Linked DNA regions of Homo sapiens: region 1 is linked to region 2. Evidence: promoter capture Hi-C in human tissues and cell types (Jung and others, 2019). All regions are on one chromosome and are shown on one strand. The core of a region is centred on a gene start or on the middle of the fragment in contact, and the rest is flanking DNA. Distances in the headings are between cores, read along the strand shown.

Evidence for each region. The method cuts DNA at HindIII sites, captures the fragments that hold promoters and counts their contacts. A contact is called where the count stands out against the background at its distance.
Region 1: a contact is called between a fragment that was not itself captured here and the fragment with the promoter of CEBPB in region 2, in 1 of the 25 tissues and cell types used here (dorsolateral prefrontal cortex).

What each region holds. Positions count from the first base shown.
Region 1 is chr20:50,921,126-50,924,925 of GRCh38, forward strand. The region is part of intron 2 of ADNP (activity dependent neuroprotector homeobox); the gene reads right to left. Among named protein-coding and RNA genes, the nearest start is that of ADNP-AS1, 8.0 kb to the right of the region's middle. The HindIII fragment of the contact is 7,393 bases long and covers 1-3,800 here.
Region 2 is chr20:50,189,018-50,192,737 of GRCh38, forward strand. CEBPB (CCAAT enhancer binding protein beta) reads left to right here and starts at 1,813. Exons shown (of 1, transcript NM_005194.4): 1 at 1,813-3,651. The coding sequence starts at 2,017. The coding sequence ends at 3,054. CEBPB-AS1 (CEBPB antisense RNA 1) reads right to left here and starts at 3,052. Exons shown (of 7, transcript NR_125739.1): 1 at 2,647-3,052; 2 at 2,251-2,405; 3 at 981-1,268; 4 at 439-544. RefSeq lists silencers at 1,346-1,755, 1,715-2,009, 1,836-2,045, 2,186-2,625, 3,046-3,155. The HindIII fragment of the contact is 25,644 bases long and covers 1-3,720 here.

The DNA of each region.
Region 1 (3,800 bases), core at 635-3,134, 730 kb after region 2:
CCATTATCACCTTAAACCAGATGAGATACTAAAATAATCACTTTCAAAATTCTGAGTTCACACCAGGGCATAACCTCTCCAAAAAGCTCAAACTATTATGACTGAGAATCAGATGTGGTTGCCATAACAACATCTGTTCCTGTACACATTACAATGCATCATGCACAGTAGTGTTTTTATACAATATTTTACATCTGTGTGAGCCATTCATACTCAGGTTTGCATATTCTTAACAAGCTCAGTGACACTTAAAATATTTAGGCAACTGAACATCTGCAACTATCTTAAATAAACCCAGGTGACTTACAGTTATGTAGAAACATAAAGGTGTCATCTAGATTTTGCGTATCTTAAGTTTTAAAAAATATGTGGAGTCACTGGTCTTTTAGGAAGATTTTCAGACTACAAGACTGGTGCCCACAACTGGAAAACTGCTACTGTGTTGCTGCTTATCCTGATACTTTCCGTATTCAGATTTCAGGCAAGAATTCTAGCAGTGACCACCAGAATTTCCAGTACACCAGTAGAACCAGTTGTTTTCAGGCTGAACTCCTCTAAGAGTTTAAGATATGTATACAAACAGAGGGAAGATGATGCCTGAGGGACAAGGTGAAAGCTGGGCAGCCAGAGGTCTGGCCCCCCGACCCTTCATCAATTTAAGAGTTCACCTAAAATTGTATTTGAAAGCGGGGGAAGATGCCTCGGTACTTAAACAAGAAAAACAGACTGAGGATACTTTATAATATACCAATTTAGATTTAGGGAGAGTGTGAGGTGAGGAGCACTTCCCAGTTTACTTCACTCTAAACAGGTATTGCAGCAAGGCAGGGACACAGCATAAAGAGTGATTCTAGCACTCCACTGCCTACATAAGAACTCCACAGGCATACAGCCACTTGCTGTCGCTGTAAGTGGACAATCTGGCTTAAGATCAATGTGAAAAAGGGAAATAATTCACAAGTAGCCCTTAAGGGGTGCTTTAGGGGAAAACTCTCAAACTTTGTTTTTCCTCTGCCCTCACACCACACAGAAGTCGTGAAGTTGTCTTCTGTGACCAAACGTGTAGGGTTTTTTCCCAAGCAGCGGACACCAGCTGAGTATCCTCTAATTTGGTTCTGACACTGTCTACCTGGATACAGTGTCATATTCCACAAGATGGGGGCTCAGTCCCCAAAACTGCTCTCTCCTTCTTCAGACTCCAACTGTAAGTCTGGGCCTCCAGAACTTCTGACTGACACTTCAAGCTGGGGTTCCCAAGACCCCCTCCTTGAGTTCTATTAATTTGCTGGAGCATCTCACAAAACTTGGGGAAACACTTATGTTTACCGGTTTATTATAAAAAGTACAGATAAAGAAATGCGTAAGGGCACTGGGCTTCCATACCCTCTCTGGGGGCGCCACCCTCCAGGTGTGTTCAACTATCTGGAAGCTCTCTGAACCCAGTCCTCCTGCGTTTTTTTTTTTTTTTTTTAAAGACAGAATCTCACTCTGTCCCCCAGGCTGGAGTGCAGTGGTGCAATCTCGCCTCACTGTAACCTCTGCCTCCCGGGTTTGAGCAATTCTCCAGCCTCAGCCTCCTGAGTAGCTGGGATTATAGGCCCCCACCACTAAACCCAGCTAATTTTTTTTGTATTTTTAGTAGAGATGGGGTTTCACCACGATGGCCAGGCTGGTCTCAAACTCCTAAACTTGTGATTTGCTCGCCCCCAGCCTCCCAAAATGCTGGGATTACAGGCGTGAGCCACCGCGCCTGGCCCTCCTGGGTTTTTATAAAAGCTTCATATAGGAAACCTTACTTCCCTTCCCCGGGGTATAGGGCCAACACCCTCTCTCTAGAGAGGATCTCAAGACCTACAATCAGAAAGCTGGGTAAAGATCAGAATCTTGCCTTGGGACACGTGTAAGGAGAGCAGGAGAAGATCAGAGATTATTTTCTGAGACCTAACGTACCCTATATTATAACAAAACACGGTAATGGGGTTATGGGTGTTATGAGCCAGGAACCGTGGTGGATGAAAACCAGTATGTATCACAACACCACAAGAGGACACGCAGATATGTCCATTTATAAATTATTTCAGAAGCATGCCAAGTCTTTGTATCTAAATGACATAAAACGTTATTTTGATCCCCTAATAATACATTTTTATGCTCTACCGAAACTACTCAGAAATAATTTCCCACAATAGGAAATATATTTCTTTCACTATTCTTGAGTAACAGAATATTTAAACTATGTTCTCAAGTTTTTCGAAGCCATTTCCCAGGATCAAGGCTTCACCGAAGGTAGCTTTTCAAAAGCGTTCTTGTACCAGGTTTTGCCACTTGATGGCTCAAGTTTTCACACTTTCCTCAGAGAAGTTTTATTTGCATTTTTTTTGGTTGCTGTTTTTTATTTTTATTTTTTTTTGAGACTGAGTCTCACTCTGTCACCCAGGCTAGAGTGCAGTGGTGCCATCTTGGCTCACTGCAACCTCCGCCTCCCAGGTTCAAGTGATTCTCCTGCCTCAGCCTCCCAAGTAGCTGAGACTACATGTGAGTGCCACCACACCAGGATAACTTTTGTATTTTTAGTAGAGATGGGGTTTCACCATGTTGGCCAGGCTGGTCTTGAACTCCTGACCTCAGGTGACCCGCCAGCCTTGGCTTCCCAAAGTGCTGGGATTACAGATGTAAGCCACCGCACCCATCCTCTTGTTGCTGTTTTTAAGTGTAACTGATCTTGAAGCAGGATTCTGAGCACTTCTTGCATTTGGATACTCCCAGTCTCAGCTCACTTCTTTCACAAGAGCAAGGATTCTGTCAACCTAAATTTATAATTCGAATTGAAAATTTTAATAAATTCCACCATATTTCCACTAGACAGGAGTTTCTCAAAAGAGACCACTCAAAAGGTTCTCAGGTCATGAGCTTCCACCAGAAGAGCAGAGCTTTACAGATTGTCAACTGAAGCACAGGTTTCCACAAGCTCTTAAATGGAGCATGAAGGATTCAGAAAAAGAAAGGGTAAAAGCCAGCAATTATCTAAGAAAAAAGTAACTGCTCAGGACAGACTGACTGTCTTAAACTAAAAAACTGGGAAAAGAAAAGGGAACATAAACAACGTTTCTTTTTAGATTCTTATACAGTTAACTTCCCAGCAGAAATATGCTACTCCAATTAACTGCCACCTGCACAATTTACACCCATACTCTCCCTGCTGGGGGTGTGGCTAGCTTCTTTACATGTAGACGCCATTGGAATCCTTGGGTTTAAGCTCACATGGAAGCATAAAACCTCACTGTGAAATGGGAAGCATTCATGTGAGCCCCCATTAGCCAAACAGCTTACAAGAGCACCATAAAGGCCTGTGTTGCAAGCACAGGCCTGGGAACCAGCCCAGACATACTCTGTGGCTCATTTCATCATTGTATGTGGTAGTGCCTTGATTTCCCTACTTGTGAAACAAGGATAGTCCTGAGAAAATTGGGAATAGTTTATAAAGTGCTTGGAAAATAAAACAGACAAGCCACCAATACTATAATACCATAAAGGCCAGCAAGGGGGCCTTTACACTTAAGCAGCACATCCTTATTAAAGTCATCACAGTCACATGAGAAGTGACATATAAACACAACCCACAGCTAAGTGACTCAATTACAAATCTATACCCTTACTGAAGAGGGTATTAGGATATGCAGATTCATTTTTAATTCTAACAGCTGGTCAAATAATGCATGACTCTTTTAGATTACGTGTATGCTTTTAAATTAAATCTTTAACTTAAATCTAAAACTGTGGCATATATTCAGAGCAGGCTT
Region 2 (3,720 bases), core at 563-3,062:
CAGCCCTGAGTGTCCCATTTTGCAGTGAGGAAGGGCTGGCCGGGTGGCCCTAGGGAAGCTGCCGCACCCCTCTGGGCCTTGATCCCTCCCCAACCCAGAGGCTGCTGGGAAGACCCAGAAAGCCAGCAGGCTGGGCCAGTGTTTTATCCCCTCCCTCCCTGCCTCCTACCCACCAAGGGTGCCCAGAGATGTCATTTCTCCAGCTCTTGGGGGCGGAGGTCACCCCAGCTCAGCAGATAACACCAAAGGTTGAGCAATGCCCGCCTGCCCGCTGGGGCCAGGGCTGGGGTCAGTGGGCTGGGGATCAGCCCCGGGCAGGCTGGGAGCTCCTGCCTAGGTGGCCTGGGCTAGGAGTGGCAGAGAGGTGGGCCCAGGGAGCTGCCCCAATGGCCTAGGAATGGGTCCGGGAGGGCAAAGGGCCCTCTAACCTGAGCCTACCCAGCAGAGGCGGGCAAGTGGTCAGAAGGCCTTGGGCCTGTGTTCAAGTCCAGGCGGGCCGTTGTCGCTTTCCCGTCTGTGAAATGGCAGCAGCAAAAGCATCTTCCTGGTGGGGTGAAAAAAGTTGAACCTCGGGGTGCAGGCCCACCGTAAGCACAGGGCAGGGACTTGGTAAAAACTTATCTTTCTCTTTCCTTCTCTTTCCTGCATACCACCCCCTCCCGTGAGGCCTCGCTTAAGTCCCTCCCTAGCAACTTCAGAAACAGAAGTTTTTGGCCTCTGGGACTGGCAATAGGTCTTAGGGCTCAGATGAGGGCATTTCATTTGGGATGAATGGGGGACATGCGGCCATGTGACCTTGGTATGCCACGCCATGCTCTCTCTGGGCCTCCACTGGCACAATCCGTGGGGGTCCCGTTCTCTCTGATGTGCAGCCCACAACGTAAGCCTTAGGTTTGGGAGTCTGGTGGGAACAATGCCACCACCACTGACAGTAGCGACACCCTTCATGGATTGCAGCTGGGAGAAGTGAAGTGACTCACCCAAGGTCACACAGTGTGGCAGGGCCGAGCACCCCCCGCCCCTGCCCCATCCCAGGGCCCAGGTCGGGTGGCGCAGCGCGGGGCAAGAGAAGACCCGGGCGTGTCCAAGCCTCGAGCAGGCGGCAGGTGTGGTGGGCGGGGCTAGGGGCGGGGCTCCGTGGACCAGGGTCCAGCCCCAAGCGGGGCGCGATCCTGCCCGGTCGCGCCGACCCCCGGGGTCCTCATATTGTCTGTGGCTTAAGAGGGGAGTCGTCACAGGCGTCAAGTCTTCTTTCTAAAGCCGGGGACCTGGGGAGGAGGTGGGAGTTTACGGGAGGAAGGGCCACGGAGATGGGTCGCTTCTCCTGGAGCTAGAGCTGCGGGCTGGGGTCTCCAGGGTTCGGCCCGGGGAGCCGACCCTGGTCGGCCGTCGGGGCTCTGCTCGGCCCTCCTGAAACCTCCGCCTCCTCCAGCAGGGGGCGGGCCGGGGCCGCGTCTCGGGGGGAAGGCGATCAGGTCGCCCCCTCCTCCGATTCCCCCGCCTTCCAGGACAGCCTCCAGCCCAGAGGGGCGGTCCGGGGGCGGGGTCGCACCGCCCCCTCTCGCTCCCAATCCCGGGGCGGCCGGGCGGGGGTGGGCAGGGGGCGTGAGGCCGCCCCTGCGTCCCGGGGGCCCCCCGAAAACGCGCTCCGGGTGCCCGGTCCCTCCGCTGCGCCCTGCCGCCGTCCTCCCGGGGGTCTCGGGCGGCCGCGGCCGTGTCCTTCGCGTCCCGGCGGCGCGGCGGGAGGGGCCGGCGTGACGCAGCGGTTGCTACGGGCCGCCCTTATAAATAACCGGGCTCAGGAGAAACTTTAGCGAGTCAGAGCCGCGCACGGGACTGGGAAGGGGACCCACCCGAGGGTCCAGCCACCAGCCCCCTCACTAATAGCGGCCACCCCGGCAGCGGCGGCAGCAGCAGCAGCGACGCAGCGGCGACAGCTCAGAGCAGGGAGGCCGCGCCACCTGCGGGCCGGCCGGAGCGGGCAGCCCCAGGCCCCCTCCCCGGGCACCCGCGTTCATGCAACGCCTGGTGGCCTGGGACCCAGCATGTCTCCCCCTGCCGCCGCCGCCGCCTGCCTTTAAATCCATGGAAGTGGCCAACTTCTACTACGAGGCGGACTGCTTGGCTGCTGCGTACGGCGGCAAGGCGGCCCCCGCGGCGCCCCCCGCGGCCAGACCCGGGCCGCGCCCCCCCGCCGGCGAGCTGGGCAGCATCGGCGACCACGAGCGCGCCATCGACTTCAGCCCGTACCTGGAGCCGCTGGGCGCGCCGCAGGCCCCGGCGCCCGCCACGGCCACGGACACCTTCGAGGCGGCTCCGCCCGCGCCCGCCCCCGCGCCCGCCTCCTCCGGGCAGCACCACGACTTCCTCTCCGACCTCTTCTCCGACGACTACGGGGGCAAGAACTGCAAGAAGCCGGCCGAGTACGGCTACGTGAGCCTGGGGCGCCTGGGGGCCGCCAAGGGCGCGCTGCACCCCGGCTGCTTCGCGCCCCTGCACCCACCGCCCCCGCCGCCGCCGCCGCCCGCCGAGCTCAAGGCGGAGCCGGGCTTCGAGCCCGCGGACTGCAAGCGGAAGGAGGAGGCCGGGGCGCCGGGCGGCGGCGCAGGCATGGCGGCGGGCTTCCCGTACGCGCTGCGCGCTTACCTCGGCTACCAGGCGGTGCCGAGCGGCAGCAGCGGGAGCCTCTCCACGTCCTCCTCGTCCAGCCCGCCCGGCACGCCGAGCCCCGCTGACGCCAAGGCGCCCCCGACCGCCTGCTACGCGGGGGCCGCGCCGGCGCCCTCGCAGGTCAAGAGCAAGGCCAAGAAGACCGTGGACAAGCACAGCGACGAGTACAAGATCCGGCGCGAGCGCAACAACATCGCCGTGCGCAAGAGCCGCGACAAGGCCAAGATGCGCAACCTGGAGACGCAGCACAAGGTCCTGGAGCTCACGGCCGAGAACGAGCGGCTGCAGAAGAAGGTGGAGCAGCTGTCGCGCGAGCTCAGCACCCTGCGGAACTTGTTCAAGCAGCTGCCCGAGCCCCTGCTCGCCTCCTCCGGCCACTGCTAGCGCGGCCCCCGCGCGCGTCCCCCTGCCGGCCGGGGCTGAGACTCCGGGGAGCGCCCGCGCCCGCGCCCTCGCCCCCGCCCCCGGCGGCGCCGGCAAAACTTTGGCACTGGGGCACTTGGCAGCGCGGGGAGCCCGTCGGTAATTTTAATATTTTATTATATATATATATCTATATTTTTGTCCAAACCAACCGCACATGCAGATGGGGCTCCCGCCCGTGGTGTTATTTAAAGAAGAAACGTCTATGTGTACAGATGAATGATAAACTCTCTGCTTCTCCCTCTGCCCCTCTCCAGGCGCCGGCGGGCGGGCCGGTTTCGAAGTTGATGCAATCGGTTTAAACATGGCTGAACGCGTGTGTACACGGGACTGACGCAACCCACGTGTAACTGTCAGCCGGGCCCTGAGTAATCGCTTAAAGATGTTCCTACGGGCTTGTTGCTGTTGATGTTTTGTTTTGTTTTGTTTTTTGGTCTTTTTTTGTATTATAAAAAATAATCTATTTCTATGAGAAAAGAGGCGTCTGTATATTTTGGGAATCTTTTCCGTTTCAAGCATTAAGAACACTTTTAATAAACTTTTTTTTGAGAATGGTTACAAAGCCTTTTGGGGGCAGTAATTGGCTTTTGTTTTTTATTTTTTTACTTTATTTTGGATTTGTAGGAT